Linked DNA regions of Homo sapiens: all the other regions are linked to region 5. Evidence: promoter capture Hi-C in 16 types of primary human blood cells and fetal thymus (Javierre and others, 2016). All regions are on one chromosome and are shown on one strand. Each heading gives the region's core, a stretch centred on a gene start or on the middle of the fragment in contact. The rest is flanking DNA. Distances are from core to core; before and after follow the strand shown.

Evidence for each region. The method cuts DNA at HindIII sites, captures the fragments that hold promoters and counts their contacts. A CHiCAGO score of 5 or more calls a contact.
Region 1: the fragment with the promoter of STAU1 here is called in contact with the fragment with the promoter of ZMYND8 in region 5 in 5 of 17 cell types (naive CD4 T cells, total B cells, naive B cells and 2 more); the score reaches 7.6 in naive CD4 T cells.
Region 2: a contact is called between a fragment that was not itself captured here and the fragment with the promoter of ZMYND8 in region 5, in 2 of 17 cell types (fetal thymus and naive CD4 T cells). The highest score is 5.8, in fetal thymus.
Region 3: the fragment with the promoter of ARFGEF2 here is called in contact with the fragment with the promoter of ZMYND8 in region 5 in 3 of 17 cell types (activated CD4 T cells, naive CD8 T cells and total B cells); the score reaches 7.1 in activated CD4 T cells.
Region 4: a contact is called between a fragment that was not itself captured here and the fragment with the promoter of ZMYND8 in region 5, in 1 of 17 cell types (total B cells). The highest score is 5.4, in total B cells.
Region 6: a fragment that was not itself captured here is called in contact with the fragment with the promoter of ZMYND8 in region 5 in 2 of 17 cell types (fetal thymus and activated CD4 T cells); the score reaches 7.1 in fetal thymus.
Region 7: a contact is called between a fragment that was not itself captured here and the fragment with the promoter of ZMYND8 in region 5, in 1 of 17 cell types (total B cells). The highest score is 5.5, in total B cells.

The regions. Positions count from the first base shown.
Region 1 is chr20:49,186,946-49,190,023 of GRCh38, reverse strand. STAU1 (staufen double-stranded RNA binding protein 1) reads left to right here and starts at 1,690. Exons shown (of 14, transcript NM_017453.4): 1 at 1,690-1,908. RefSeq lists silencers at 1,417-2,086, 2,317-2,476 and an enhancer at 2,877-2,946. The HindIII fragment of the contact is 4,529 bases long and covers 1-2,864 here.
Region 2 is chr20:49,219,506-49,222,299 of GRCh38, reverse strand. It overlaps DDX27 (DEAD-box helicase 27), which reads right to left. Exons shown (of 21, transcript NM_017895.8): 1 at 2,759-2,794; 2 at 702-848. Among named protein-coding and RNA genes, the nearest start is that of DDX27, 1.5 kb to the right of the region's middle. RefSeq lists an enhancer at 2,571-2,794. The HindIII fragment of the contact is 1,176 bases long and covers 820-1,995 here.
Region 3 is chr20:48,920,283-48,923,188 of GRCh38, reverse strand. It overlaps ARFGEF2 (ARF guanine nucleotide exchange factor 2), which reads right to left and starts at 1,478. Exons shown (of 39, transcript NM_006420.3): 1 at 1,179-1,478. The coding sequence starts at 1,299. RefSeq lists an enhancer at 768-847 and silencers at 1,218-1,267, 1,308-1,407, 1,638-1,717. The HindIII fragment of the contact is 17,186 bases long and covers 1-2,906 here.
Region 4 is chr20:49,051,967-49,054,756 of GRCh38, reverse strand. All of the region lies in intron 1 of CSE1L (chromosome segregation 1 like), which reads right to left. Among named protein-coding and RNA genes, the nearest start is that of CSE1L, 7.0 kb to the right of the region's middle. The HindIII fragment of the contact is 7,559 bases long and covers 1-2,790 here.
Region 5 is chr20:47,355,009-47,357,948 of GRCh38, reverse strand. It overlaps ZMYND8 (zinc finger MYND-type containing 8), which reads left to right and starts at 1,250. Exons shown (of 23, transcript NM_001281775.3): 1 at 1,250-1,292. The coding sequence starts at 1,279. RefSeq lists enhancers at 1-210, 1-239, 990-1,284, 819-1,426, 1,270-1,439 and 2 more. The HindIII fragment of the contact is 2,834 bases long and covers 1-1,588 here.
Region 6 is chr20:49,285,186-49,288,098 of GRCh38, reverse strand. The region is part of intron 3 of ZFAS1 (ZNFX1 antisense RNA 1); the gene reads right to left. Among named protein-coding and RNA genes, the nearest start is that of SNORD12, 6.0 kb to the right of the region's middle. RefSeq lists enhancers at 1-863, 864-1,795. The HindIII fragment of the contact is 2,344 bases long and covers 122-2,465 here.
Region 7 is chr20:48,991,686-48,994,491 of GRCh38, reverse strand. It overlaps ARFGEF2 (ARF guanine nucleotide exchange factor 2), which reads right to left. Exons shown (of 39, transcript NM_006420.3): 22 at 1-41. Among named protein-coding and RNA genes, the nearest start is that of CSE1L-DT, 53 kb to the left of the region's middle. The HindIII fragment of the contact is 5,000 bases long and covers 1-2,806 here.

The sequences.
Region 1 (3,078 bases), core at 441-2,940, 1.8 Mb before region 5:
CACTAAAGGGACGGTGAAAGTCCTTTGACTATTTTTGGTGTTCTGAAATTCAGTGTCATTGCACTTCACAAGAAGCAATGTAAGGAGGCAAGTGTCCTCCCAGGCTTCGCTAAGGCTCCAAAGCCTTGTTTGGAGGGGCCTCTTCAGACACAGCAGCTCGTATTTTGAATTTATATTCCGTTGGCAAGAGAGATTGAGCAATTATTAGATTGAGAGACATTTAAGAAAGAGAGAATTATTTTTAAATAGTGGGGCGGCAGTCCCAGAGTGAGCGGGAGAGAGAAGCTCTGTGCACCTGCAGTTCCTTCATTCATTCTCAGTTTCTTGGACCTCTCACAACGCGAGCATAATTTTCGCTGAGTGTGCAGAAGTTCAAGATTCTTTTTTTTTTTTTTTTTTTTTTTGAGACAGAGTCTCACTCTGTTGCCCAGGTTGGAGTGCAATGGCGTGATCTCGGCTCACTGCAACCTCCGTCTCCCGGGTTCAAGAGATTCTCCTGCCTCAGCCTCCCAAGTAGCTGTGATTACAGGCGCCCACCACTGCATCCGGCTAGTAGAGACGGGGTTTCACCATGTTAGTCAGGCTGGTCTCGAACTCCTGACCTCAGGTGATCCGCCCACCTCGGCCTCCCAAAGTGCCGGGATTACAGGCGTGAGCCACTGCGCCTGGCCAAGATTCTTTACTGGCCACCCTCTCTCCAACCTCCCATACAATACAGCTGCTAAAAACCACTTAGTTTATCTAGGTCTGGGTGAAATAAATAGTAATCTGGCACTTCTCGTCTTTTTTTTTTTTTTTTTTTTTTTTTTTTTTTTTTTTTTTGAGACCAGTGTCTCTTTGTCGCCAAGGCTGGAGTGCAGCGGCGCGATCTCAGCTCACTGCAATCTCCGCCTCCCGGGTTCAAGCGATTCTCCTGCCTCAGCCTCCCGAGTAGCTGTTTACCTACAGGCGCCCGCCACCACGCCCGGCTAATTTTTTGTATTTTCAGTAGAGACGGGGGTTTCACCGTGGTAGCCAGGATGGTCTCGATCTCTTGACCTAGTGATCCGCCCGCCTCGGCCTCCCAAAGTGCCGGGATTAGAGGCCTGAGCCAACGCGCCCGGGCCATTGTCTTTTATCTCACTACACATTTTTCAATTTTATTTATTGTGTATTTTACTTACACAAGAATGTAAGCTCCACGAGGGCAGGGATTTTTGTCAGTTCACCACTACATTCTTAGCTCTTGGAGCAATGCCTTGCATATGGCAAGCATTTAATGAACATTTACAGATGGAGGAAGAAACAACTGCAGGAAGGAGAGAAAGGAAGGCCAGAGGCAGGACAAGAGGAAGAAGCGACAGCAAGGAAGGAAAAAGGAAGTGGAGGAGGAAAGAAGGTAGGCTGGGTTCTCCCAGACCCGCTTCGAGTCCAGCAGGCAGCGCGAAACTCCCACCAGAACTACAACTCCCGGCAGGCCCCGGGACTCAGGACGGGCCGCTGCGGTCCAGGCGGGACAGGGCGCTCCTCCCGCTGGGCCCCCGGCGTGCCTTGCGAGCGCAGGCTCCGCCGCAGTGCCAGCCGGAACTTGTGGTTCGGACCGTGGGTGGGGGTGGGGCCGGGGCCGGGCCTGGAGGCGGGCGGGGGCCGGGGGCGGGCGCCTGCCCCTCCCCCGTCACTTCCTGCCGGGCTGCGGGCGCCTGAGCGGCTCTTCAGCGTTTGCGCCGGCGGCTGCCGCGTCTCTCTCGGCTCCCGCTTCCTTTGACCGCCTCCCCCCCCCGGCCCGGCGGCGCCCGCCTCCTCCACGGCCACTCCGCCTCTTCCCTCCCTTCGTCCCTTCTTCCTCTCCCTTTTTTCCTTCTTCCTTCCCCTCCTCGCCGCCACCGCCCAGGACCGCCGGCCGGGGGACGAGCTCGGAGCAGCAGCCAGGTGAGGCGGCCGGGCCGGGCCGGGCCTGGTGGGGCCCTCGCGGGCGCCGCCGCGGTGGGGAGGTGGGCGGCGGGTGGGGCCTAGGCCTCGGCGGGCCCGCGCACCCCTCCGCCTTCTCCCGGGCCTCTCTCTAGCCCGCGGGGCCTTCCCGGAGGAGGCGGGTCCTCTTGCGTTCCCTCGCCTCGGGGCGCCCTGAGGCCTGGCCCCGGGCGCCCCCATCCCCTCCAGCCCTCACCGGTGCCACAAACAGGTGCTGCGGCCGCCTTTCCTCGTCCCGCATGGCGCGCGCGGGGATGCCGAAGTTATTCCCGGGGCTGGGGCGCAGGCGGGGGGGGGGGGGGGTCCCTGCTTCAGGTCCCCGAGGGCTGGAGCCTCTCAGTGTCGCCGGCCCAGGTCTGTAGCTTAGTGGTTAAGAGCACGGCCCAGGTGTCCAAAACGGGTGCCGAACCCGGCTCTGCCCCGTTAGGCAAGACACTTAAAAAGTCTTTGTGTCTTGGTTGGAAAAGGGGCTGCTAATACCGTCCCTGCCTCTTAAGGTTCAGTGAAATGGGGCGTGTAAAGCGCTTATCAGAGTGCCAGACCCACAGCGTGTCCCAGTAAACCGTCTGCATAATTTATTAGCGTGATATGAAGGTATAATTTAATGGGCAGAGTGGATAGAAGTTGACCTACCTATCCGTTTGGGTTTCTTAGAGGCTGCAGTGTTCCGCGTGCCCATGTCCAGAGCCAGGGCATTGTTTTCAGTTGTTAACATCTGAAAGGGGCGTACGCTTAATTGGGACACTGTAGTTGACAGTCTGTAAACGATGGATGCTGTTTCTTTCCATCTCCGCTTAGGCAACTGCAGGATATTCACCATCTCCCGCAGGATGAGCAACCTGTCCATTTCTCCCCGCCCCGCCATCATCCAGCTTCTTCTTGTCATTCCATTTCTGGGAAAGTTGCTGGCAGAAGCTTCCCTTGAGTTGAGCAAACCTATCTAGAGCACTTGCTGTGTGTTGGGCTCTGAAGGGGGGTGTACGGAGATGGAAAAATTTGTCTGTCTTGTCTTGCTCTACACCTCGATAAGTTTTTTTTCACGGAAGCTTTGCTTATATTCACCCCTCCCTGTTGGCTGACTTTCCTTTTAAGCCCTTGCCCCGCCTCCGTGTTGCAGTATTGCTTGTGTGG
Region 2 (2,794 bases), core at 158-2,657, 1.9 Mb before region 5:
TTAGCTGGGCGTGGTGGTGGGCACCTGTAATCCCAGCAACTCGGGAGGCTAAAGCACAAGAATCGCTTAAACCCAGGAGGCAGAGGTTGCAGTGAGCTGAGATGGCGCCATTACACTCCAGCCTAAGCAATGGAGAGAGACTCTGTCTCAAAAAAAAAAAGAAAAGGCAATGCTGGTTTACTTCAATCAGAGTAAGGACCAGCAAAGCCTGGATTAAACTGTTCTGGACAGGCAATATTTCTCTTTGAAGACATGAAATGGAAAATAACTTAGATGCATCTTCTAGTTTAACCAGATTCACAGAAAGGCATGGGATCTTGGCAAACAAACAGATGACAATGACATCTGTGGTAGCTTTGGCTGTGCTGTGTGGGAACCAGGGACACTGCACAGTGACACCACCGGAGACCACCTGGCAAGTGCTCATACTTTGTTTGGTATTAAAGAGGAGTCTCCCCAGCAAGCAGACTCAGAAAAAAAAAAAAAAAAAAGACAGTGAGTCATTTGTGATCCCTGTGCCCATCTCATCAAAAGTATACCAGATATTTTCTTTTGTTTTTTTTTAACCAGTTATTTTCAAAGGAGTTGTAGTATCTGCTGAATGTAAACAGATGGTCAGTCAGGTCAGGGCTAGGCCCTGAAACTCACAGTCCAATCTTAATAGCCCAAAGTCTGGAGCTGTCCATCACTGTCAGTCTCACCTTCTTCTTGAGTTGGCTCATGACATCAGCCAGGGCCCAGCTGCCATCGTACGTCCCCTCCTTCTCAGTGAAAACGAAATCAGGGTTGAAATCAGCACTGCGGTTCTTCCCCAAAGCTTTTTGTCGTCTGCCCAGCACAATGGGCCCCTGGGAAGAGTAAGAGACAGAGTGACTTTGGGGCTGAGATAAAGAATGATAGAAAGCAAGAAGGGGCCAGGCACAGTGGCTCACACCTGTAATCCCAGCACTTTAGGAGGCGAAGGCACGCAGACAAGGTCAGGAGTTCAAGACCAGCCTGACCAACATGATGAAACGCAGTCTCTACTAAAAATACAAAAAAGACGGGTGTGGTGGCTCACGCCTGTAATCCCAGCACTTTGGGAGGCCGAGGTGGGTGGATCACAAGGTCAGGAGTTCAAGACCAGCCTGGCCAATATGGTGAAACCCTGTCTCTACTAAAAATACAAAAATTAGCCGGGCGTGGTGGCGCATGCCTGTAGTCCCAGCTACTAGGGAGGCTGAGGCAGGAGGATTGCCTGAACCCGGGAGGGGGAGGCTGCGGTGAGCCGAGATCGCGCCACTGCACTCCACCCTGGGCGACCGAGCAAGACTCTGTCTTAAAAAAAAATGAAGTGAATGAGACTGGAGTGTTGGTCATGAAGAGGAGAGCTGTGAGAGATGAAAGTCAAGGTGGAAAGGACAAGATCGTGAGGACCTTGAAAGCCACGTGAAAGCAGGCTGGAGAGTTTTTTTTGTTTTGTTTTGTTTTGTTTTTAGCAATTTGAATCATTTCTTGAAAAACAAACACAAACAATTCCCCCCGCATCATGGGTGTGACAAACACACCCCGCATCATGGGTGTGACCGGGCACTGTACAGGGGCCTGGCTCCTCGGGGACTGGCCCATGACCTCCCACGCAGCGGGCTGAGCCAAGGCCTGTCCGAGAGGGGGCCGCAGCCAGCAGGCCTGGGTGGCCGCCCGCGCCCACAGGGGACATCGGGGAAATGGCGACAGTGTACGGGACCCAGACGCTGCCTGAGGAGTCTTTGCAAGGTGGACAGGCCCGGGGGTCTCTACCAGCAGGCTGGAGAGTTTTAAGCAAGGGAGGTCTCTAACGTGACTGTATCGCAGAGATCCCTCTGCTGCTAAGCGAAGAATACACTGGAAGTGCTCAAGATAAAGAGATGAAGATGAAGTATGTTTGGACTGCAGGTGTGCTGGTGTGCAAGCATGAGACAGCAGTAGCCGGAGCTAGGGTGGGTACAGTGTGAATGGAGAGAGGCGGGAGAAGCTTAAGAGAGATTCATGAGCTAGCTTGCAGAGCACTGGCGGCGGTGAGGAAGAAAAAACTGTCAAGAATAACTCTAAGGTTTCTGGCTTGAGAAGGGAACAGGATGAGAGTGAACACAAGTTCATCTTTGGAGGAGTTGAATTTGTAGAGGCCATGGGACATCTGGATAAACCTATCAGGCGGACAGATGAGAGTGCAGAGGGGACAACATCTGGGCTGAATGTTTGAAGGGCAAGCATCCTTTTCAGAACACCAATACCTCTTTAATTGCCATACTGCTTAATGTCTGCAAGCCCCCACACCACCATACGCTTCAGGAGAGTGGCACTCACCTTGTTCATTGCTACGCCCCCAACGCTTAACACTAAGTCTAGCAGGCGTTAAGTATTCAATAAACACTGGCTCGATGAACATACGAAAGGACAGCTAACCATGGCTCCTTGAGCAGGAACCATGGCTGACTTCACCTCTTACAAGGTGTAAGAAACCTGCCGTCTCTTACACAGGGCGTGGTTAAATATCAGTTCAGTGAATAGATACTGAGTTCAGCAAGGAGACAGGGAACGACATGGCCAAAGAAGCAGGCGGACGTAGAGATAACCTAGTGGCGGGGAAACTGAGGAAGATCTTGGGGTCCCGGTGAGATCCTTTTCGGGAAACTTCCGGGGCTGGCAGGGGATGATGAGGATTCGGGGACAGGGACCTGAGGAATCGCGAGGAAGGGAAGCAGTCAAGGAAACCCAAAGACCAGAACCGTGCTCATACCTCCTCTTCCTCGTCCCCGGAGTCAGACTCGGGCTC
Region 3 (2,906 bases), core at 229-2,728, 1.6 Mb before region 5:
ACAGCTCTGGTCAAATGCATGGATTCTCCCACCAAGAACTCTCTTCTGAAACTCCATATGGTGGATAGTTCTTGCCTTTCAGTATTCAGCTCAAGTGTCACCCTCTTGGAAAAGATTACTTTCCTGACCACCTGATTACTTTTCCTCTTGGAAAAGATTACTTTCCTGACCATGGAAAGCAGTCCTCAAGCCCTCTTTATCACATCTTGCTGTTTTATTTTCAAAATAGTATTTATCAGTATTCCAAAATACCTCACCTATTTTCTTAATTAATTATTTTGTCTCCTCTATTCGAGTATAAGCTCCATAGGGGTAAGGACCATGTCCGTCTTGTTCCCCACTGAATTCTCAGTACCTGGTATGCAGTGGGCACTTGATAAATATTTGTTAAATGATTAAAACTGAAAGATAGGATAGTGATTTTGCTATCAATTATCAAGCCTTTAACTATTAGTTAGAATTCTCCCTCTTTCCATAATCTGAGGGTCCATTCAATCAGCAAATATTTATCGAGCACCTACTGTGCGCCAGGCACTGTTGCAAGCGCAAGGGATACAGCAATGAATAAGTCAGACAAGTATCTTCGCGCTGAAGACCTTGTATTTTAGTGGACTGCTAGGAATAAGCAGATGTCTTGCTCACTACAATGCCTGGGAGATCCAGAACACCTTCTACAATCCTTCCTTGAGGGAAAGAGCTATGGGAGATCCCCAAACCAAAGGAAAACATTCTCCAACGGGCACTTCCAAAACAAGAATCAGGGGTTTCCCTAAACCAGTTGGACGGCTCTTCCTACATGCTCTGTTCACCTAGGGGAACCCCAATCAGCAGAGCTCAGGTAACGAAAAAACTTGGGGCAAGGGCTACTGTTTCTAGGACTTGGAGGTGGTGAGGGGAGGAACCAGGAAACAGGGCGACAAGGAATCGTGGCAAAAGCCCTGAGCTGGAACCCTGAGGAACAAGCTCTGGTTGTCACCAACTTGCTAGGTGACCTTGGGCCAGTCCCGAGCTGCCCGGGCAACACTTCCTCCGGGGGTATAATGAGGAGGAGGCCGGAAGGGTGGAATTCGGGATCGGGGGGAAGCGGAGGCCAGGAGGCCGGGCCAAGGCCGAGTAGGATAGGGCAACGGCCGACGTGCTGAGGCCAGCGCGGGGCAGGGCGGGAGCGGCTCACCCACCGAGCGCCACCTGGCAGGCCCTGCGCAGCTGGGAGTGCTGGGGCCGCTTCACCTCCTTGTCGGCTAGGATCTTCTCCAGGGCCCGGGACACGAACATGCTCTTGGTCTGGCTCTCCTGCATGGCCCCGGCCCGGCGGGGGCTGACGGCCCCGCGGGCGGGCGGCGTGAGCGAGATGGCGAGCTAGGCTGCGGGCCCGGCGTCCCGGCCGGCACCGGCCGCGTCCGTCCGCGCCGCCCCGTCAGGAAGCGACACCTCGGCCCCACGGCGCCGCCATGTTGGAGCGCGTCACGTGACCACGTGACTGGCGAGGCCGCTACGGCCGCCTAGCGTCCGTCGGCCCCGTGACCCCCAGCGGGGCGGAGCCTAAGGCTGGGGGCGGAGCGGAGTCAGGTGGGCGAGAGACAGAAGGCGAGGGTGGAGGGTGGAAGAAGAGAAGGTGGGGAGGGGAGTGGGCATGGGCGAAGGGTATAGGGGACGCGGGGGCTAAAGAAAGGCGAAAGCGGGGAGAGGTGGTGATGGAGATGAGAGGAGAGAAGCGCAAGGTAACGGGAGGTGAAGGGGAGCACGAGAATGGAGATGACGTGGGTAAGAGAGGAGATGAGGAAAGGAAGGGGAACGAGAGGATTGGCAAAAAAGAACGGTGACAAGGAGAGATGATAAAGGGGCAGGAGGAGAAGGCGAGTAGGAAAGAAAAGAGGTGAGGGAGCGAGGACTGGAAGCTGGTGAATGAATGAGAAGTGATCGGGAGTAAGGGGCGTCAGGAGGAAGGAGGAAGGGCGATGAGAAGGCGGCGGCGGAGGGGAAGGGGGGAGGCCCGGCGCGGCGGCTCACGCCTCTAATCCCAGCGCTTCCGGAGGCCAAGGCGGGAGCATCGCTTGAGCCCAGGAGTTCGAGACCAGCCTGGGCAACATAGGGAGACCCTTTCTCTACAAAATAAAAAGTAAAACAGCCGGGCCTGGTGGCGCTGCTTGTGGTCCCAGCTACTGGGGAGGCTGAGGTGGGAGGATCGCTTGAGCCTCGGAGGTTGAGGCCGCAGTGAGCTGTGATGGCACCACTGCACTCCAGCCTGGGCCACAGAAGGAGACCCTGTCTCAAAAAACAAACAAACAAAAAGGAGGTGAGTTAGTTATGGAGGAGATGAGGTGGTGTGGGAAGAGGTGAGAGGGAGGCACAGAGGTAAAAGAAAAAGGAGAAAGACAGGAGGGAGAGGGGAAGTGAAAAGGAAAGAGAGGTAGAAATGAGAGGAGGGGAAAGAGTAGGAGAAAGGGTGAAGGGAGAGGAGGTAGGAAGGGGAGCTGTCAGGAAGAACAGAAAAGAAAGAAAAAGATGAGAGTAACAAGTTAGGAAAACAGGAAAGAGATGGAAAAAGGAATGGTGTAGGAAGGAGGTGAAGGGGAAGGAGGTGAGGAAGAGTGGAAAGAACATGCTGGGAGAATAGGAAATGGAAGGGGTGGAGGGAGAGGGGAGGTGAAAGGAAGACAGAGAGGGAGAGAGAGAAGGTGTGTTTATGTCTATTCTCCACAAGCAGGGTTTCACCACAGCCACTGGCAAGATACACACATCCATATGACCCTCCTGTCACAGCAGCAGTGACCTTGCAGTTCAGTGAACTTCTGTTTATTGAGTGTCGCAGCTGTGCATAGTATACCAGGAAGCACTGACCTCTCTCTGTAGTTTATCCTGTTATAAACCTGTGAACCCTCACAGTGCAGTGAACTGGACCTGGG
Region 4 (2,790 bases), core at 41-2,540, 1.7 Mb before region 5:
GAAGTCATGAAGGTTTTCTTAAGTGGGTAAAAATGTAATGAAAGTGGAGTAGAGGACCTTTGGGCTGGTAATGGTTTGCAGAATGGGGGAAGTGTCACATGTATGAACCAGGCACACGATGCTAGATGTTTTCATAGGCTTCATATCATTTATTCCACACAATGATTTTACACACAAAGAAGGGCACTCAGGTTGACATATATTAACTATATATGGTTAATAAATAAAGATCAGATTTAAATCAGTCCAACTCCGTAGGTCTACCCTCTTTCTATTACCCAAGGCTGCCTCTTAGGTGGAAATGACAGACGGCTGACCAAGAGTGAAAGCACTCACAACACAATAGAAAGGCTGATGTGAAAAGAGGGCAGCCAGAGGACAACTGAGCGGTGGGGAGCCAGAAAATAAGAAAATATTATCTAATGCTGTGCTTATGCAGGGCACTCCCCAACAGCCAGAAACCCCAACCTTCTAAAGAGAATTATCTGTATTCTACATGCTGCAGTCCTTCCCCTTAATTAGAAAATGTGTTTATCACAGGAAGCTAATGTTCTGACTGAGTAGATCCCACCACCTACCTAATCACTCCCTCTAATCCAGGTGTTCCACTCTATAGGTGTGAAAATCAAGTCCCATTAAACCACACATACAATCTATTGAGAGGCTATACCCTTTATGGTTTTTTATATCACAAGTTTGGAAAATGCTACACATTATATCCTGCCCCACTTTGGAGATTCACAATACAAAGCACTTTAAACTCACAAAGTTACTGGTTCACATCAATTAATCCAGAGTCTCCACTGGTGGGAGGCTGAGGCAGACGATCGCTTGAGCCCAGGAGTTCAAGACCTGCCTGGGCAACATGGCAAAACCCCATCTCTACTAAAAATACAAAAAATTAGCCGGGCGTGGTGGTGTGGCCCTGTAGTCCTAGCTACTTGGGAGGCTAAGGTGGGAGGATTGCCCAGTCTCTCCCATTATTTGGCTATAGAACTCCTTTTCAATAGAACACACTTTGGAAAGCAATGATTTAATCCATTTATTTTCCTATTCCTTTTTTCTGTATTGAAATGGTGGATCAGTTATGAAATCATGAAAGTTTGGGCCAGGTGTGGTGGCTCACACCTATAATCCCAGCACTCTGGGAGGCTGAGAGGGGCAGATCACCTGAGGTCAAGAGTTTGAGACCAGCCTGGCCAACATGGTGAAACCCCGTCTCTACTAAAAATTAGCCATGCCTGGTAGCACATGCCTGTAATCCCAGCTACTTGGGAGGCTGAGGCAGGAGAATTGCTTGAACCTGGGAGGCAAAGGTTGCAATGAGGCGAGATTGCGCCATTGCACTCCAGCCTGGGCAACAAGAGAGAAACGCAGTCTCAAAAAAAAAAAAAAAAAAAAAAAAAAAAGTTAGTTTGCTGTGGTCAAGTTAAATCATTAACATCAGTGTATCTGAGTTAAAGGAAATTGGCCTTTCTTTGCCATATGCAAATTTATTCTACCTTTGGGGATTCATGCAAGGCAGATTGTTAGAAACTTGGGTGGGGAGGGTGCAGGGGCAGATTTACAGATCTATTTTGTCTTTAAAAAAAAAAAAAAAAAAAAAAAAGAGAGACAGGGGGTCTCACTGTATTGTCCAGATTGGATTCTAACTCCTGAGCTCAAACAATCCTCCTGCCTCAGCCTCTGGAATAGCTGGGACTACAGGCATATGCCACCACACAGGGCTTATTTTCTTGATTTTTAAAAATACACTTCTTAATAAATCTGCATTTCACTTTCTTCATTATGTTTCTCTAGCATTTGTATATTTCTCAACTAAAACTCCTTAGATTCCTCATAATTACTTGTCTTAAACACCCAAACTCCTGGCCAGGTGCAGTGGCTGCCGCCTGTTAGCCCAGCATTTTGGGAGGCCAAGGCAGGTGGATTGCTTCAGCCGGCTTCAGACCAGCCTGGGCTAACACAGCAAGACCCTGTCTCTACTAAATATACAAAAAATTAGCCAGGTGTGGTGGCACACACCTGTAGATCCAGCAAATTGAGACTGCTGTGAGTTGTGATCAGGCCACTGCACTACAGACTGGGCAATGGGAGTGAGACCCTATCTCCAAAACAACCACCACCACCACCACCACCACCAAATCCCTTACCACAGCAGGGTCTAAGCAATCTGGTATCTACTGACCTCATCTCCTACCTCCTCCTGGCTCTTGCTACATTCCAGGCACAAAAGCCTTCTGTTCTACAAACTGGCCACAAGAGTTCTCCCTGACCATAATAATGCTCATCCTCTAATTTGATAATGGACACCATTCAGCACTCAGCCCACTGTCAACTCTTCAAAAAGGCCTTCTACGATTACCATCTACATCATCCTTGTTTTACTGTGTTAGCAATTACCCTCATTTGAAATAAACTTCTTTGTCGTCTCATACACACACTAGACTGCAAGCTCCTGAGGGCAGGGACTTTCGTCTGTATGCTCAGGACCTTCAGCATTACCTGGCACACAGTACATATTTAGTAAGCATTTGTTGTATGAACTAAAGGATAAGTCACAACATGTCAGTCACCCAGCAAAACATGAGTTTCCAGTCAAGACTGGAGACTATCCCTTCAGATCAATCATTAGCAGCCCCAACATAATGTGGGAACTCAGTTGCATGAATGTCAGATGAACAAATGACCAACTTAACTGCCACAATTAAATTTGTTTATTCAAAAGTACTTCAAGAAAGTGAATTTTTAGATTTGTTCTGGCCTGGCAGAATGGCTCATGCCTGTAAT
Region 5 (2,940 bases), core at 1-2,500:
CTTGTTTCCGGGCTGAGCGTGCCATCTTTCTGTCTCCCTCTGGATTGAAATGGCTTCTCAGCCCGAGAGGCACTGCCTGTGCCCTGGATTCACAAGGTACACGCCTCCCTGGGAAGCAAAGGCTGAGAGACAGCGGCTCTCTCTCTCTCTTTCTGCATCTGCCGGGAGAGCTGCAGCTGGTATTTTTCCACAGGCCTTCGCTGCGATCTCAAGGCCTAGTTTTTCCCAGCCAGGCCCCGAGTCCGAGAGAGGGTTAACAGGCAGGAAGCCGAAGGCATCGCAGGCTAATACGGAAGTCAGATTTGTGTTTAACTGACAGGTTTAGCAGGTCTCGGCCGCGGGGGAGGGGCCGGGAGGGAAGGGAAGTTTGTAGATCCAGGCATGTGGCCTGCGAGGAGGGCTTTGGGTTTTTCTTAGGGTAAGGACCGAGAGGGGTCCCCCTTGGCATCGTGGCAGGGCGACAGGAACCCACGTTGATTTTGCCTGCAGGACTGGCTAAGCAGGGCGCGAGAGGCCCACGGCTCCCTGGCCTGCCTTGCAAGGAGGCATGGGGACAATGACTATGCAAACTTGACCACTCTGCTCCCCTCCTCCCCTCAGCAGCTACTCCTCGCTCCTCTGAGAAGCCAGGGCTGCTCTCTGCTGATTTTTCGGGGCTCCCCCGGGCTGCCTGCTTCCCCCAGCTTCTCAGAGGCCTGCCTCAAGCCCCTTTTTCTGGCCCCTTGGCTGTTTCCCCGGGACTCCCCACTCCCCAGCTTCCCCTTCCCCTTGGAGAGCCACCCTGCTGGACTGTTCTAGAAAAAGGCTGGCCTTCCTCCCTGGACAAGGGCCGTTTCTCTGGGGGCAGGTGAGGGTGAGCCGTTCCAGCCCACTCCAAGAAACTCCCTTCCCAGGGACCTCCGGGCCTCAGGCTTTCCTGGAGCAGGTCAGGCTGGCTGCCCTGGCTGGCCCGTGCCGGGAAATCTAGCCAGGGTGCAGGAGAAGTGCGTGTGGGGGCCCCTTTCCCAAGTTTTTCTTGCTGCAAAAGGCCTAGCTTAGCCTGTCTTTTTCTATGCACAGGATGGCTCTTGCTCACCCGAGCCTCACAAAGATAATCGCTCAGGAAGTGTTTCAGCCAATCCGGGGCGGCTTTACACTCCGATTTGCCGGGGCAGCCAATCGGGGATGAGCTTTTATTAGGCGGCCAGATCATCAGCCGAAGTGCCAAACCCTTTTTCTGTGAGAACTAGGAGCCTGTCCTCCATGTTTTATAAGTATTGACATTACACAGTGTTAACAATGCATCCACAGAGGTAAGCTCGACTTTTTAACCATCTTTTTTCCCCCTCCCTCTGAGACATCCGAATTGTGGGCGAGCAGTGTGATTTCTCTGTGGCTGGCCGTGCCACACTCACCCCCAGAGCACTTATGTTAACTTGGAACTGTTTAGAGAGAATTTTTTTGCTTTCTTGGGTCACATGGCTCAGTAGCCATTAGCCATAGCTTGATTTTGCAAACTGGCAAGGGCCTGGCACACCTTTCCTTCCACCAGGGCATGGTGTTTCTGGAAGAGTTTGAAGCTAGATCCTGGTATGCCAAAAAAGAAGCTTTTTTTTTTCCTTCTTTTTTTTTTTTTCTTTCCCTCTTCCCTCTCTCTTCCCCTCTCTCTCTCTCTGAGCAGTTCCCCCCCTCCCACCCCTGCACTATTGTCTTCTCTTTTGCCACATGCCCTGCTGGGGGAAGAAAATGGAAGGTAAGCAAACAGGCTCCTCTCCAAGGAGAGCTCATGGCAGACAGCAGAGCAGGCAAGTTTGCCTCTCCAAAGAGGTTCTGGGAAGGCTGGATAAGTTTTGACAAGAGAGGAGCGTGTTTGCAAAAGAATTGTGCCCTCAGCAGAGCAGTGCTAAGGAGAGTCTAGCTCCTGGGGCCTAGGTGGGTGGTGGTGTCTGTACACGGTCTTCTCTTATTCTACAGAGCTTCTGCACTTGAAACTACATTGTTCAGCCTGTTTTCCTGACTTAGGTTGCTACAGAGTGTTCTGCAAGCCAGCCTACAGCCAGCAAATGTTTCTGAAAGTGTTTTCTAGGCTTTGGAGGAAGTTTTTTGGAGTAGGGATGGGGACTGGGGGGTGGGGGGAGAGATCTTGGACAACATCCTGCAAAAAAAAAAAAAAAAAAAAATCTGCAAGGATTCTGAATCCCTTAGCTTTCTACTCTTGCATGATTTTCAAGGAACTAATGTTACCTTTTATCCTTGTTTTCATTTTCCTGTCCCTTTTATACATTGTATCCTCCTCTCTTCTCCTGTGTCATGGAGTGTAGAGGAAATAAAATCATGTCTGTGGCTCATGACAGCATTCCATATTCAGTTGTTGGGTTGTGTTGTTGTTGTTGTGTGTGTTTTTAATAATACCATGTAACTGTTTAAAAAAATTTCCTTTTTGATCAAGTCCCAAATCTGCCAGCCTGTTCTCTCTTCCTAACTGTGGAAAAATGAGACGGTTGCTTGAACATTTGTTGGGTAAGTAAAGCAATCCATTTCCTCTGTGACCATGTTTGAAGAGTTTTGCGAACATTTGGGGTCTGTTTGTAATAGTGGGTCTTGGCTACAGGAGTTGGGGGCTTCATTAGCAGGAACAAAATAAGGGCTTTTTAAAGAGTGTCTTGATTTTAGGTGACTGTTTGAATCCACTGTTTTTCCTGATAACCTGCAGCTAGGATTGAAGATTATACTTCCTGTTTACCCTGAGTCAGGGGAGAAATGTTCAGTTCATTGTGACTTGACTCTAGACCTTTAATGGGGTTTGTTTGGATATTCAAACTGTGAGTAGGTGATGTGCTTGTGAAATGTCATGAAACTGCTTGTTCTTAGAGGTGCAGAGCCCTAAAAACATTGGTGGTGTAGAAGCTGGTGGTGGTGGTGGTATGTGTGTGTTGGGGGGGTGGTGTCAGTGTGCTCATG
Region 6 (2,913 bases), core at 44-2,543, 1.9 Mb before region 5:
ATGGCAAAAACACTATACTCAAAAGGTGTAAGAAAACTCAGTTTGCTTATTCCCCTTCCATTGATTAAGGACACCAGGCAAACTGGAGGATGATGCAACACAGTTATTTGGTAAAAAAGCTTCCCTGTGTTAGCTCAATTTATTGAGGGATTGTAAAGGTCAGCAGAAGGAAAGCATACAATCATGGTCTCAGGCCACAGTATGCTTATCTGCTGTAAAGTCCAGCCATGTGACCAGACATGGAGGTAGTGTCCCCAAGGGACACAGAAAAGGAGTGGTGTTACTTTCTCTTTAAAGGGGGTGGAAGGTATAGACTTCAAACATCCATCTCTGCTATGTCTTTCTCTCCTGGGTTTGCTTATAGACAAAGCTGCCATGTTAACAGGCCCATGTAACAAGGAGCTGAGGATGGCTCATGGTAGTAGTATGATGAATCTTATAACTGAACCTCACAAGAATTAAGTAAAATCAATTGACTCCCAACTTAAATATGATTTGGAGCTCCTTATCTTACTAAGTGAATTGGCCAAGGAAAATTAGCTCCACCCAATGTTCAATCACTTTGTCATCCTTTCTTACAAGACTGTTAGGTATGATGGGTTTCTCTTCAAAGTTTAACTTCCTTGTTCTTTGTTCTTAAGGTCAACTTCCTCATACCTTCCCACTCCTAATTACCCATTCTGTAAACATTTCTCCCACCAATCCCAACCTGTAACCCGCATTTGTTCCTTATCTGGAAAAGTCTCCCTCGCTCGTGGCAACTGCTCTTCCCACTGCTGTAACCCACACCCCTCCTGTTTAAAATAGCCAATCAGGACTAGTTTAGATTGGACTCTAGCCAATGGGGATAGAACACAGAAGCAGGAACTAGCTGTGTTAGGGATAAAAACCACTTCACCTCCTTTGTTCGGGGTGCTCTCACTGTGACCAGGAGTGCAAGCAGCACCATTCTGCAGAAGTAAATCTGCCTTGCTGAGAAATCTTTTGGAGATCATTTTCTTTGCAACTCTGAGCTCTTATTGCCAACAATTTGGGAGCTCATCTGGGATTACCGTTCTCCTTCAGGAGAAGCCCACGATCACCTCTCTTGAGGAGAGGCATCCCACCACCTCTTTGCGGTGGCCTCACAAACAGGAGATTGGGTCCCACCCAAGGTGACACATAAACCCAGACTCTCAGCAACACAGGCGGAAAGGATCCTCACATACTGCGGTGACCAGGTAACTGCACAGACCAAGTTAAGAAAAGTCACAGGGGCGACAAAGTATTTCCTTGGTGGTCAGGGCATTTTAGAGGTTGAAAGTGTGTCAATGAGACGCACAACTGAGTGCGAAGCGAGCGATGATTCCGGATCTGTGATTCCATGGTCACCTCGTATAGCTTATGGTGGATTCCTGTCATGGGGCTTATACTGACACACCAATGCTAAGGAGGACCTGAAATATTCCCTCCTGGGAAGCAGCCAGAGAAGGATGAAGCAAAAGGAGAAGAGTGCAAGAAATCTCCAGTAGCCAGGGGCTGACCCTCTAGAGAAAGGAATGGCAAGAAATCTCCAGTAAGGGAGGTTGAGCCTATGAGGAAAGGCAATAAATCTAATTTTGGGCCTCACACCAAACCTTCATTATGCAAAATACCTCAAGAAAGACAGTAAATAGAAAGGATCAAATTAATGACAGTAACATCCCCTCTGACAGTCCCCTAGGTTCTCATGCTAAAAGGATAGTGAAAGGACTAAACATAACTACAGGAAGCAAGCCAGAAGCCAACTCCTCTGAAAGGAGTAAGGTCTCTACCCCCGAACAGCCTGCTAACATATGGGACCCACCAGACCACTTGCCTCTGCCAAACCCCATGCATCAAGCCGGTACACAGGATCCCCCCACTCATCAGTCCCTCCCCCATATAATCCTGAATCAATACCCCATGTTCCCCCTAGCCACACACTTAAGCCCTACAGCATGAAATAGAACAATGTAAAAAGGATACTCAGAACTTCCCTTTCCCCTTTCCACCTCCAAAGAATTGCCCCCAACTCTCTTCCCCTTGAAGAAGTGCCCCTTGGGAGAGGAGGCATCAGCTTCGTAAATGCCCCCTTAACCAGCTCAGAAGTACAAAATCTAAAAAAAAAGAAAAACTCAAGCCCTTGTTAGATGACCCTTATGGGGTAGCAGATCAAATCATTTTTTAGGACCCCAGTTGTATGGGCCGAGCTTATGTCCATTTTAGGCATTCCCTTCTTGGGAGAAGAACCATGATCCATAGGGCTGCTTTGGTAGTCTGGGAACATTAACACCCTACCGGTCAAAATGTTCCATCAGTATCCCGAACTGAGAGTATTTCCCAAGCATTCAACATACAAGGGATGGATGAAGGACCCATGAATTCCTAAATAGGCTTAAAGAACAGATGAGAAAATATGCAGGTTTAGAAATGGAAGACCCACTGGGGCAAGGGATGCTAAAGCTTCATTTTGTTACTAAGACTTGGCCAAACACCTCTAAAAACAACTACAAAAGATAGAGAATTGGAAAGATTGTCCCAGAGACTAACTTCTTAGAGAAGCATATAAGTAGGGACAAAGAGCAGCAGAAACAAAAGGCAAAAATCATGCTGTCTACCTTACAACAGAGAACTCTGCAGTAGGAGACACAAGGAAGTAAAACTTACAAACCCTCTAGGCCACCAGCGACCAAACTGTATACAAGGAGTAAGGGAATAAAACCTGGAAGTCACAGTGCAGGACAGGGAAGAGGGGAAAACAAATGTTTCAAATGTGGAAGAGTAGGTCACTTCAAAAGAGAATGCCCCAAATGGGAAAAAGAAAAAATATTCCACTTATGGCCTTCCAGGAAAATAGGGAGGTCAGGGGCTGTCTCTTTTACCTTGAGTCCCACCAAGAGCCCCTGATAAATT
Region 7 (2,806 bases), core at 164-2,663, 1.6 Mb before region 5:
ATCAGCTGAGCGAGCTCCAGCTGGCTGATGCATTTCAAGATCTAAGAGAAAGAAGGCATGAAGAAATGAGTTCCTACCTTACAGCTAGAAAAAGGGCACTGTAATCTTAAGTTAGTCATTAAAAAAAAGTTGGTTCAATGGAGTTATGCCATATAGATGTTTATGCAAATTTAGTAAGCTCTCAATAAAGAGAGAAAAAGCATTTGACTGGGGCGGCGGATTCCTCCCACCATGTCACTTAATAGGCACATCATTTAGTCACCCCCACCTCCTTTTTCCACCCTCCTCGTGAGACGACAAGACACCAGCCTCATTGGCCTCACTGTTGCTCCTTTAACTTGTCATCTCTTGTCCCACCTCAGGGCCTTGGCACTCACTGTTCCTTATGCCTGGAATGTTGTCTCCCCATGGCTCACTCCTTCAATTCCCAGCTCAGACATGTGTGTCCCTCTCAAAGAGATCTTTCTTGTGAGATCGTACCTTCCCATTACCATGTCCTGCTCATACTTTTTTTTTCTTAGTGCTTACCACTTTTTGGCATTATACCATATATCTATTTGTTTGTTTCCTGCCTTAGGTGCCAAGAGGGCATTAACTCTGTCTTGTTCACTGCTGAACACTTAAGTCCCTGGCACTTAAAGTTGTTGGCAATCGTTAATTGGTTTAACTGAAGGAATGAGAATATGCTCTACATCAGGCATGCAGTGGGAGATGAGGCTGGATCTCCTGGTCCTGAGGGGTGCCTCTGGTGCTTGAGAATGCAGATCTGCACACGGGCCCTCCTACCTGAAGCTCAGCTGTAGAAACAGAAACTGGTCCCAACTTCTGTCAGAGGAAACACTGGCTACATGAAACTTACCAAGGAATGGCACACAGACCTCCAGGGAAACCCTAAGGAATTTTCATGGGAACTTCTGACTGAACTTCAGTGTTGCTTTTTACGCTGACCTTACAACTCAGTCCCAGAGTCCAGGACTCCACTATACCACTGAGCACTGCCGAGTATCTTTACTTATAAATTGCTTTCTTCTTGACTGAGAAATAGACTTAATTCCACCAAAGAGAATCATCCCCTGATTTCTTCACACACTATTAAATTATTATTAGTAAGCTAGTAATGTCCTCCCTTTTGCAGAAGCTGGGGACAGCTGGAATCTCAAGTACGTCACCAATACTGAAAGGTCAAGGGCTTATTAGTTCCAAGCTGATTTCTCAGGGCTTCTGACAACCGCAGAGGTAGCTAATTAATTTTTAACATTTCTAGATTCTGCCATATACTTGGCTGGCAGCAGGAACCTCATATTGATAATACCTCCCAGGCTAAAAAAATGTTTTAGAAGAAAAAGCAACTATTCATTGATTCTCTACGTATTATGGCTCCTTAGAAGGCAGGAAATGATTTTAAAAAGCACACAATTCAAAATATATATTTTTTTATTTTAGAGATGAGGTCTTGCTCTGTTGCCCAGGCTGCAGCACAGTGGTGCAATCAAGGCTCACTACAGCCTTGAACTCCTGGGCTCAAGCAATCCTGCTGCCTCAGCCTCCTGAGTAGCTGGGACTACAGGCATGAACCACCATGCCTAGCTAATTAAAAAAATAATTTTTTTTTAAAGATATGGGGTCTTGCTATGTTGCCCAGGCTGGTCTGGAACTCCTGGCCTCAAGCCATCCTTCTGCCTCAACCTCCAAAAGTTCTGGGATTACAGGTGTGAGCCACTGTGCCCAGCCATAACTCAGTTATTTCTAACATGGACTACTCAGAGTTGTGACAGAGAGAGGAAAGGCTGGTGAAGAGGAGCAAAGCCATACGCCACGGAGATGACAGCAGGTAACACTATTGAGTTCTTATTACTTGCCAAATACAGTCCCAAGCCCTCTTCATTTTCATAACCACCCTGTGAAGATTGTAGAGATGAAGAAGGTGGGACTCGGTGACTAAGTAACCTGCCTGTGCCATCCAGGCAGGAAGAGGTGGAGCCCCAAATCAGACCCCAGTTGCCAGGCTCTAGAGCCTTTACTCTGAATCTGAGCCATGTGGTCCACATGGGGAAGAAGGATGACAGCAATTTTCTATGTCAAACTGTCCTTTACATTCTCCACAGCCTCATCTCTATTCTTTCACAGTTTTCTCTCTAAACAAAAAAGTAATACATGTAGATGGCAGAAAAAATTAGAAATTAAGAAAAAAAAGAATAAAACAGTTTCCATAATTCTATTTCTCAGACAGAATGTTAATGCTTTGGTCTATCCTTTCAAACTGCATTCTCTGTGTATTTTGCCACGAGAGACAATGCCTCACAATCTCTTATAACAACTTGTAATTTTACTGTGACCATTTTCCCACAATAGTCTTTAAAATCATCTTTTATCTTCTTTTCTGAAATCTCTTTTAATTCATAGGTAACCCTCCTCCCTTATTTTTCTTGCAATTTTTTTGCTGAAAAACCTGGTCATCTGCTCTGCAGGTCTGTCACACCTAGAATTTCCAAGCTGCACCCTCATATCTAACATGCTTCTCTGTCCACTGTATTTCCTGTAAACTGGCAATATAGGCTTGAATCAATTCAGATTTGAGTTGGGGCTAGAACATTTCTTAGGTAGTATTGTGTACTTCCATCAGAGAGCACATACTATCTGCCTGTCTTTTTTTTCCACAACATTATTTTAAATGGCCACATAACATTCTAAAAAATGCTGTACCATACTTTTTAAAAAAAGTAGCAATCTCTTATATTGTTGGGACATCTAGCTCTTTTTAACCCAAACTTTTCCCTAGAACAACTAAAACTGCAACAAATATCCT